Linked DNA regions of Homo sapiens: region 1 is linked to region 2. Evidence: promoter capture Hi-C in 16 types of primary human blood cells and fetal thymus (Javierre and others, 2016). All regions are on one chromosome and are shown on one strand. The core of a region is centred on a gene start or on the middle of the fragment in contact, and the rest is flanking DNA. Distances in the headings are between cores, read along the strand shown.

The links. The method cuts DNA at HindIII sites, captures the fragments that hold promoters and counts their contacts. A CHiCAGO score of 5 or more calls a contact.
Region 1: a fragment that was not itself captured here is called in contact with the fragment with the promoter of TEDDM1 in region 2 in 1 of 17 cell types (megakaryocytes); the score reaches 6.3 in megakaryocytes.

The regions. Positions count from the first base shown.
Region 1 is chr1:182,299,839-182,304,329 of GRCh38, reverse strand. The region is part of intron 2 of LINC01344 (long intergenic non-protein coding RNA 1344); the gene reads left to right. Among named protein-coding and RNA genes, the nearest start is that of LINC01344, 12 kb to the left of the region's middle. RefSeq lists a silencer at 297-346 and an enhancer at 2,104-2,621. The HindIII fragment of the contact is 4,098 bases long and covers 1-3,975 here.
Region 2 is chr1:182,397,290-182,401,925 of GRCh38, reverse strand. It overlaps TEDDM1 (transmembrane epididymal protein 1), which reads left to right and starts at 1,259. Exons shown (of 1, transcript NM_172000.4): 1 at 1,259-3,809. The coding sequence starts at 1,441. The coding sequence ends at 2,262. The HindIII fragment of the contact is 8,350 bases long and covers 1-4,636 here.

The DNA.
Region 1 (4,491 bases), core at 677-3,176, 98 kb after region 2:
GGTGTACCCTCACTCCCCCAGGGACTTTTCAATCTTTTTGTTGATTTTCTCTAGAAACACTTTTTTGGCAAGAGCAAAAACCCTGCAAATCATGGGTTCCTGTAAGACCCTCTTGGAATTCTGTGAAAGGGTAAATGTGATCTTGGAGAGTTATGAGAATGGATTGGTCTATTTTCGGAAAACAGCACCCAGTGAATTGAAAGCAGAAGTGTTTTCCAGGACAGACAATTGGTGTTTAAGAGAGAGAGAAAAAGAAACGAGGAAAGCATAAAACAGTTGTAGAAATGCCACTTTTGAAAGTGCATGCTTTACTTCTTGTTTCTATTTCTTCAAATCCACTGACTTCTGAAACCATGTAAATTTGTCTCTGCTCCTATTACTCTACTGAAATGTTTCCTGGCTAAGTCACCAATGACTCCTTTTTGCAAACCCAACAGCTGCTTTTTGGTGCCCATCAAAACCAATTGTCTGTCTTGGAAAACACCTCTGCTTTCCAGTTTATTAACCCTAGGCACTGAGTTCTGGAAGCAGGCCAATTGATTTTTATAACTCTCCAAGGTGACACCCTTTCACAGAATTCCAAGTGGGCTTTATGGGAATCCATTATTTGAGAGAGTTTGTGCTTTGTGGGGTTTTGTTTGTTTGTTTTTTTTTTTTTAATTCTCTTGACCCTCTCCAGTGGCAGAGAAACTTCTGAAACATCCTTCTTCGAGGCTTTGGCAATACTTTTCATTCTGGGTTCTCCTTTTTTCCCATCTTAGTTGGCTTCTCTTGCCTTGCATCCAATTAGATGCTGGTATTCCCTAGGATTCTAATTGTAGATTATTTTTTCCACACTTGCTGAGCCCATGCATGAATGATGCACGGGTCCTCTGCTGTCATGCATCATATACTGAAAGTTATTAAATGTCTATTTCTAGCTCCTGCATCTTCTGGGCTCTAGACCTAGAGTATCAGTAATTGCCTGCTGGATTTCTTAACCTGGATGACCTAAAACCATGTCATATGCTACAAGTCGAATACCACATTATAAGCCCAAATATCTTTTTCATCCCCAGTCAAACTGCTACTCCTCCACCATTTCCTGTCTCAATTAATGGCACCAATATTTGTCCAGGTACCCACTCCAGAAACCTGGGATTTATCCTCATACTCTTCCCTCTCTTTCAACTGTGAGTTCAATATATTGTGAAGTTCGATGAACTCTACATCCAAGATCTTTCTTCCCACCACACTTTGCTATCATCCATCACCCATGACTTTTTTGTTGTTTTGTTTCGTTGTTTTTTTTTTTTTTTTTTTTTTGAGATAGAGTTTTGCTCTTGTTGCACAGGCTGGAGTGCAATGGTGTGATCTCAGCTCACTGCAACCTCCGCATCCCGGGTTCAAGCGATTCTCTTGCATCAGCCTCCCAAGTAGCTGGGATTACAGGCATGTGCCACCACACCTGACTAATTTCATATTTTTAGTAGAGATGGGAGTTCACCATGCTGGTTAGGCTGGTTTCGAACTCCTGACCTCAAGTGATCCCCCCATTCTGGCTCCCAAAGTGCTGGTATTACAGGCATGAGCCACCGTGCCCAGCCCTTTTTTAAATCCAGGTTTTCTTTGTGTCAGCACATCCCTCCACGTTGCTTCCCATAATGATCATCTTCAAAGCACACATGTGATTTTCTCTCTCCCCTTTTAAAAATCTGCAAAGACTCTCCATCACCTCCAGGATAAAGTGCCATCCCCTGAGGGTGGTACAGAGGCTCCTCTGCAGTGCAGCCCCAGCTTGTCTCCTGGAGTCTCCTCCTGCACTCCCTGCTGATTGAACATGCCATACATGTCCTCCTCCCTCTTTGCTTTTGCCACTGTTATTTTCCTGTTCTACCAAGGATAAACCCTCTCTTCTCACCTAACCAACTTTCCCCACTCTTCAAAGCCTCCTAGGCCAAAGCTGTCACCCCCTGTGACTTTTCTTGATGCTCCTCTTCAAAACCTAGTAGAATAAATTATTTTTTGTTCCCTCAGCGCTTTGTTTATGTCTCTGTATAGGAATTATTGGATTATTTTATAACTACTTGCCTTTTTGTTTGTCTCTCCCTCTCTCAGGGACCTTTCCTTATTAATACATTACTGTAATTCCAGAGTGCCTGGCATATAGCAAACACTCAATAATGTATGCATTTTAATGCTTCCTCACTCTCTTCTTTCTAACCCCTTTCTAGTCAGCTGATTAAGGTATAAACAAAACCCAACTCATATTTTTTCCAGCTGAACCAGTTCAAATGAACACAGCAGGCCCTGAGAAGTTGTAATAAGAACGAAAGATCAAGGACTTGGAGAACAAAGAGCACATTGAGTTGTTTCAGTAGTGTTGACTGGGATTGCACCACCCCCAAGTGCTTGCTCAGAAAATAACAGTAATGCTTTATAGCCTAATCTGGTCTTACACTTTCCAAAGTGGAGGCCAGCTGGTGTTAACAGCATCACGGTGAATAAGCCAAGTGGTGTGTGTGGTGTGTGTGTGTGTGCGCGCGCGTGCATGCTGGTGAGGGTTTTTCAGTGACAGAGAAGGTGTTATCTCTATTTGGAAGGTGGGAAGCAGGGCTGGAATTGGACTGCTGATCCTCTAATGCAAGGCTGATGAAACTTTTTTTGTAAAAGGCCGGATAGTAGATATTCTAGGCTTTGTGGGTCATACATCTGTGTTGTACCTGCTCAGCTCTGTCATTGCAGCGGAAAAGCAGTCTTAGAGAAGATACATAAACAAATGAGTGTGGTTGTGCTTCAGAAAACTCATTTATGAACACTGAAGTCTGAATTTCATATGTTTTTCATGTGGCATGAAATGCTATTCTTGTTTTTGACTTTTCGTACCCCAGTGATTAAAAAATTTAGAAAAATGTTAACTCTTGGGCTAAGTGGGCAGCAGGCAGGATTTGGCCTGCAGCCATGCCATCGTTAGGCCCCATGCTCTAATGCTTAGTTCATCACGACATACCCGGAGTGGCTGGATTTGGGGTGGGGTCATACGGAGGGTGCTGACCTTATGCAGTACTGACTACGTGCCAGTCTCTGTGTTTCAGCACGGTGCATATGCCCACTCATTTCTTTCTTTCTTTCTTTCTTTTTTATTCTACTGCGTGTTCTCTGAACCTGTCATTCATTTCTTACAACAACTGTGTGAGCGAGGAACTAGTGTCACCCAACTTGGCAAGTGATCAGACTGCTCACCCAGCTTGTAACTGTCAGTGTCAGACTTTTACCCAGGTGTCTGGTTCTGAGGTGCATGTTCTTACCACCACATCCTACTACTGCCTCCTATAGCAAAATATCATTGCCATGGAGATCATATGTGATGGGTTATGTTTTTCAAAAACACAGACATTCTTATCAAAATGGGGTCAATTTTCCAAAAAAAAAAAATTGAGGACAAGGAGGACCGAAGGACAGATGTTGACATATCCAGCTGTGGGAAGATTGGCTCAGAATCCCCCAGGACTTAATATACTTTTCTGAATTTGTTATTGAGTTCTTTCTCCAGAAATTTGGAGGAATGCAGATAGTCCTCTTACCCTCTCAAAAGATCTTCCCTCTTGCTCCCTTTCCACCCACCCACCCTCCACCAACACACACACACACACACACACACACACACACACACAGAGTTCCTAGTTGTGCATATTAAACTACTGTCAAGTAATCTATTTGGCATTAGTAGCTAAAGAACAGATGTCAACTTATTGCTGCTTCCAGAGGGCCCTGCCAGATGAATGCAAAAGTTATCAATTCTCCCAGAAGGAATTACCCACAACACTTTTGTGCCTGCCCTTTCCTCCCTGCTGTTTCCAGTTTCTTCTCCTTGGACACCCACCCACTCTGAATCCAACACTTGACAGTGGCTCAAGGCTCTGACCACAGTGACAATGTAAGAAGAGTGGGTGGTCTCAGCCACCCTCTGCAGTTCTGGGAAGTTTACTCCAAGCTTTGCTTCTCCCCAGCCCCCAATTCCCCCTTCCTCCCTGACCTCATAAGCTCATTCCCTTCAAAAATCGGGGTGTGTCTGTCACCCCAGGCAGCAACAGCTGCAGGCCCTGGGAGCTCAGTGGATGGTGATGCAATTCAGTTGGGGGTGGGGGTAGAAGCTGGTGGCTGGGTGAGGGAGATAAGAGGAAACAAAAGGCAGTTAAAAAGATCTGTCAATGAGAAGGATGGTTAGAGCCAGAGGAGGACGTGGGTGTCCCTGAGCTGATGTGAACCTTGCCTCAACTCCTTGGCTTTCTCCCAGTCCTTCTCTTCTGACCCTCAGGGGTCCCTGGAAATCTGCTACCTCCTGAGCAGGGCACTCTCCTCTCCTCTCCCCTCCCCTCCCCTCCCCTCCCTTCCTCTCCCCTCTCCTCTCCTTTCTCTTTCTCTCTTTCTCTCTCCCTTCCTTCCTACCTTCCTTTCTTCCTTCCTTGCTCTCTCTCTCCTTCCTTCCTTCCTTCTTTCTTTCTCTCTCTC
Region 2 (4,636 bases), core at 10-2,509:
GGCAGGAGGATTGATTGAGCTCAGGAGGTTGAGGCTGCAGTGAGCCGTCATCAAGCCACTGCACTGCAACCTGGGCAACAAAGCGAGACACTGTCTAAAAATAAAAATAAAAATAGAAATAAAAATAAATAAATGAAGACTCTTGCCTTGGATGCAACCCCTCATATGCAGCTGGCTGCTACCTAGTGCTTAGAACTCTTTCTGCCTATATGTGTTAGACACATAGTAAATGATAATTAAAGAGAGAATAAAGTTGAGGACCTAATTCACATTAAAATATAAGCAGTTTGTTGGATCTACTTATCTCAACATATCTGCATTTTAATAAAAAATTATACCTTAACATTCCAAAATTGATCTCAAAAGGTGACATTTTACATTCATCTACTGTTCTTTGGAAAGATAATTTGGGGCAATTGAGCTGCTTTCTTTGTGATCCCCAAAAACTGTTACAGAAGAATGAAGAGGACAAGAGCTCAGTATCTATATATATGAGCACACATCCAAACGTTTATAAACTTTTATGTCTAGGAAGAATGTATTTGCTCTCAGTATATGACCCAACATATGAGTAAGGAGTCTTTTTTTTTTTTGAGACAGTCTCGCTCTGTCACCCAGGCTGGAGTGTAGTGAGATGATCCTGGCCCACTGCAACATCCGCCTCCCGGGTTCAAGTAATTCTCCTGCCTCAGCCTTCCAAGTGGCTGGGATTACAGGCACTCTTTACCATGCCCAGCTAGTTTTTGTATTTTTAGTGGAGATGGGATTTCACCATGTTGGCCAGGCTGATCTCGAACTCCTGACCTCGAGATCTGCCTTGGCCTCCCAAAGTGCTGGGATTACAGGCTTGAGCCACCATGCCTGTCCGAGTAAGGAGTCTTAAAGGATGCATTAAGGTTTGTGAGTAACCCGGGTCTTCTCTGGATAATCTCCGTGCTCAGGCACCTCTCTTTTTCTACTCCGAGCATTGAACAGGGGCAGAAGGAAGCAAGCCATGAGAGAGAGGGACAAGTGTAACCAGAAGGTCCTCAAGGGTCCAAAAGCAGAGCTCCTGAGAGCACAAATTCCCACAGGTGCATACTAAAAAATATTTATGTTTCTACTTTGGCAGAACTCAATTAGTTCCCAGTGTACTGGAATGAAATGGAACAATGAGACCCACCTCACTAAAAACCTAGGCTCCTGTCCAGAACTTTCCAGTCTGTGAGAGAGCAGTGGGCAGAAGGAGATGATAAAAGTAGGTAGAACTTAGCTCTGTATATATAGGCCCAGAACTCGAGAGGCCTGTGAGGGAGAGGAGAGCAGAGAGGTCCTGAGTATTGCTCTTCACGCTTCAGTCGGACAGGCCTGTATTCCATGGGAAAGTCCATTGGCCATTTTTAACTGGGGCTATTTCTTTTCTCTTATGGACTATATCAGGCCACAGTGGTCTCCAAGGGCATGATACTCAAAGGTTGTCTCCTGTATCCTTTGTGCTCTCCCAGGAATAAGCAAAGATGTGCCAGGCTGTGGAAAATAGCCTATGGAGGATTACTAAAGATAGTGACTGGCTCCCTCTTAACATTTTATGTGGTTCTCTGTCTTGATGGCGGGATGGTGCTCATGAGGAAGCAAGTGCCATCAAGGTTCATGTACCCCAAAGAGTGGCAGCACCTCACCATGTTCATCCTCCTCACTCTTAATGGCTGTGTGGACTTCATGAGCAAGAATGTGCTGCCTCAGAGGTGTGTGGGCCTAGAAAAAGGTACCCTGGTCCTGATCATCTACGAGCTCCTGCTGCTGATGGTGTCACATGTTAAAGATTCAGAAGGGGTGGAGCTGCACGTTTATTCTCTGCTCATCTTGGTGGTGTTCCTGCTGTTGCTGGTGTTGACTGCAGAGCTGTGGGCTCCCAACATGTGTCATCTCCAGCTGATGGAGACCTTTCTGATTCTGATGATGGGCTCCTGGCTGATGCAGGCAGGCTTTATTCTATACAGACCCGTCTCTGGCTACCCATGGCAGGACGATGACATCAGTGACATCATGTTTGTCACCACCTTCTTCTGCTGGCATGTGATGATCAATGCCTCATTCCTGTTGGGAATCTATGGCTTCTCTTCCTTTTGGTATCATTGTTTCAGACCCAGCTTGAAGCTGACTGGGCCCAAAGAAGCTCCATATTATGCAAGCACTCCAGGACCCCTCTACAAGTTGCTACAGGAAGTGGAGCAGTCAGAGAAAGAGGACCAGGCTCTCCTCCTTCCAAAGAGCTCCCCCTGAGACAGGGCCTACAGTGGCTGGCACATCGTCCACCTCATCTTCCTCCTGTTGGCTCCTCAGCCACGAGCATGGTACCCTCCTTGGTAAAGGTAATGGCCTTGAAGGCTAGCAGTTGGTCCCGTCTGCTGGTTCATTTTCTTTTCTTCTCTTTTCTTTTTTTTTTTTTTTGAGACAGAGTCTCGCTCTGTTGCCCAGCCTGGAGTGCAATGGCACAATCTCAGCTCAGTGCAACCTCCGCCTCCCGAGTTCAAGCGATTCTCCTGCCTCAGCCTCCCGAGTAGCTGCAATTACAGGAGCCTGCCACCATGCCCGTGCTGGTGCATTTTCTGTCCCTGAGCCTCTAATTACTGAGAAGATAAGGGGAGAGGGATTGAGAAAGAGACGCTGATGGGATTTGCGGGAGGGAGGGAAAAGGACGAGGAGAACACTTCTTCTTAGTGTGCAAGAAAAGCCACTGGGGGAAGAGAATGCAACAAAAGGAAGAGCTGTGAAGGGAGGAGAACAGAGTCTAGCAGTTATGCTGTCATTAGCGTCATCAGGCACAAGGGATTGCCTTTTACCTGAGGGAATAAAGACTTCTCACAACTCAAAACTGGACCCATTCAAATCTCATCTTGATAAAGAAAAGTGGGTACTTTACGTGCTCACCAAAGTGGTGCCACCATGTGGAAATAGCATGATAGAATTTATAATTAATTCATACAGGCTGAAATTATGCTCGCTTTGCCTCCTTCTCTCTCCGCAGCTTTCAAGAATTGGCTTCATTTCAAACTTTACATATAAAGTGAGACTTTTTAAATACTTAATAACATTTCAAATTTCCATAATTTAAATTTGTATAGAATTCAACTGCTATAGCATTTTTATAGCATTCAAATGCTTGGTACTTCCCTGACTTCTCATTTTATTACTCTTATTCTAGCCCAAACTTTCCTTTTCACCATGACCACCCTTGCACATGCAATTTAGCAGATACCATTCTTGGGTCTTTGCAAATTTCTTTTCCTTGCAAATCACAGCCAGTCATCCTACAGTCACATATTTACCATGTTATTCGATTCCCAGAATAAACCTACATCCACCCCCACACCGCACCAAGTATCCCCAAGGTGGCCTTCTCCAGAACTCTTACTGATTCCCTTGTTTTGGAACTCTTGGGCACTTACATTAAATCTGCTTTGTTAGTTTGCTCATACAGGTGACCCACTTTCTTTTATACTGCTGCTGAAATCATTTTCTTTCAGAAGGTTCTTCCTCACCCACTAAAGTACAGGCTCCTAAAGGGAAAAGACTTTGCCTTATCCAAGTTACCAAATTTCCTATGTATACTCCAGCTATGGATCATGGTTATGTTTAATAAAGCCTTCTTTGCTTCCAGAGTCTTCCCTAATCCTGTTTCTTCTAAATGTATTGCTGGACAGGTTGGAGGTTTTGTGAATCTCTCTGGGTGACAACAACAGTCCTGAACACTGAGTCACTGCCTTAGTAATGCACCCACTCTCTTCCTTGTTTTGGGGTATAATAAAATCCAGTAACTTGTTTCTGAAGTTGACTCTGTTATTGTTTTTAATCCTCACAAATGTTTCTATAAGGAGTCTCTAGAAAACTGAGACTCCAGCAGGTTGACTTGCCCAAGTCTCACAGTTGGTATGAGGCAACACAGGAATTTAAGTGCAGGTGTGTCTGACGCAAGTGTGACTGTGTCCTCTGGGCCACAGTGACTTTGCTAATGGCAATGGAGAAACAAGTTATCTCAAAATGAAAAAAATGAAATTGTGAAAGAAAGAAGAAAGACGGCTGGGCACTGTGGCTCACGCCTATAATCCCAGCACTTTGCGAGGCCAAGGCGGGCGGATCCCTTGAGGTCAGGAGTTCGAGACCAGCTTGGTCAACATGGTGAAACCCTGTCTCTACTAAATATACAAAAATTAGCTAGGTGTGGTGGCCCACACCTATAATCCCAGATACTTGGGAGGCTAAGGCAGGAGAATCACTTGAACCTGGGAGGCGGAGGTTGCAGTGAGCTGAGATTGCACTACTGCACCCTAGCCTGGGTGACAGAGTGAGACTATGTCTTAAAAAAAAAAGAAAAAAGAAAAGAAGGAAGGAAAGAAAGAAAGAAAGAAAGAAAGAAAGAAAGAAAGAAAGAAAGAAAGAAAGAAAGAAAAGAAAACAAGCCAGAAAGCCCAGGTAAAGCAAACAGCACAGTGTAAACACCCTAGACCTCCCTTAGGAGTGGGTTTATGCAACACTTTCTGTCCCCTACCCTGACCCCCATCTCCCCCGGGGGGTGAGAATCTGGCAGACTCTCAACTTCTGGCTGGGTCTTACATTTCTGGGCTCAGATCCAAAGCAAGAGCTGGGGATAAGACTT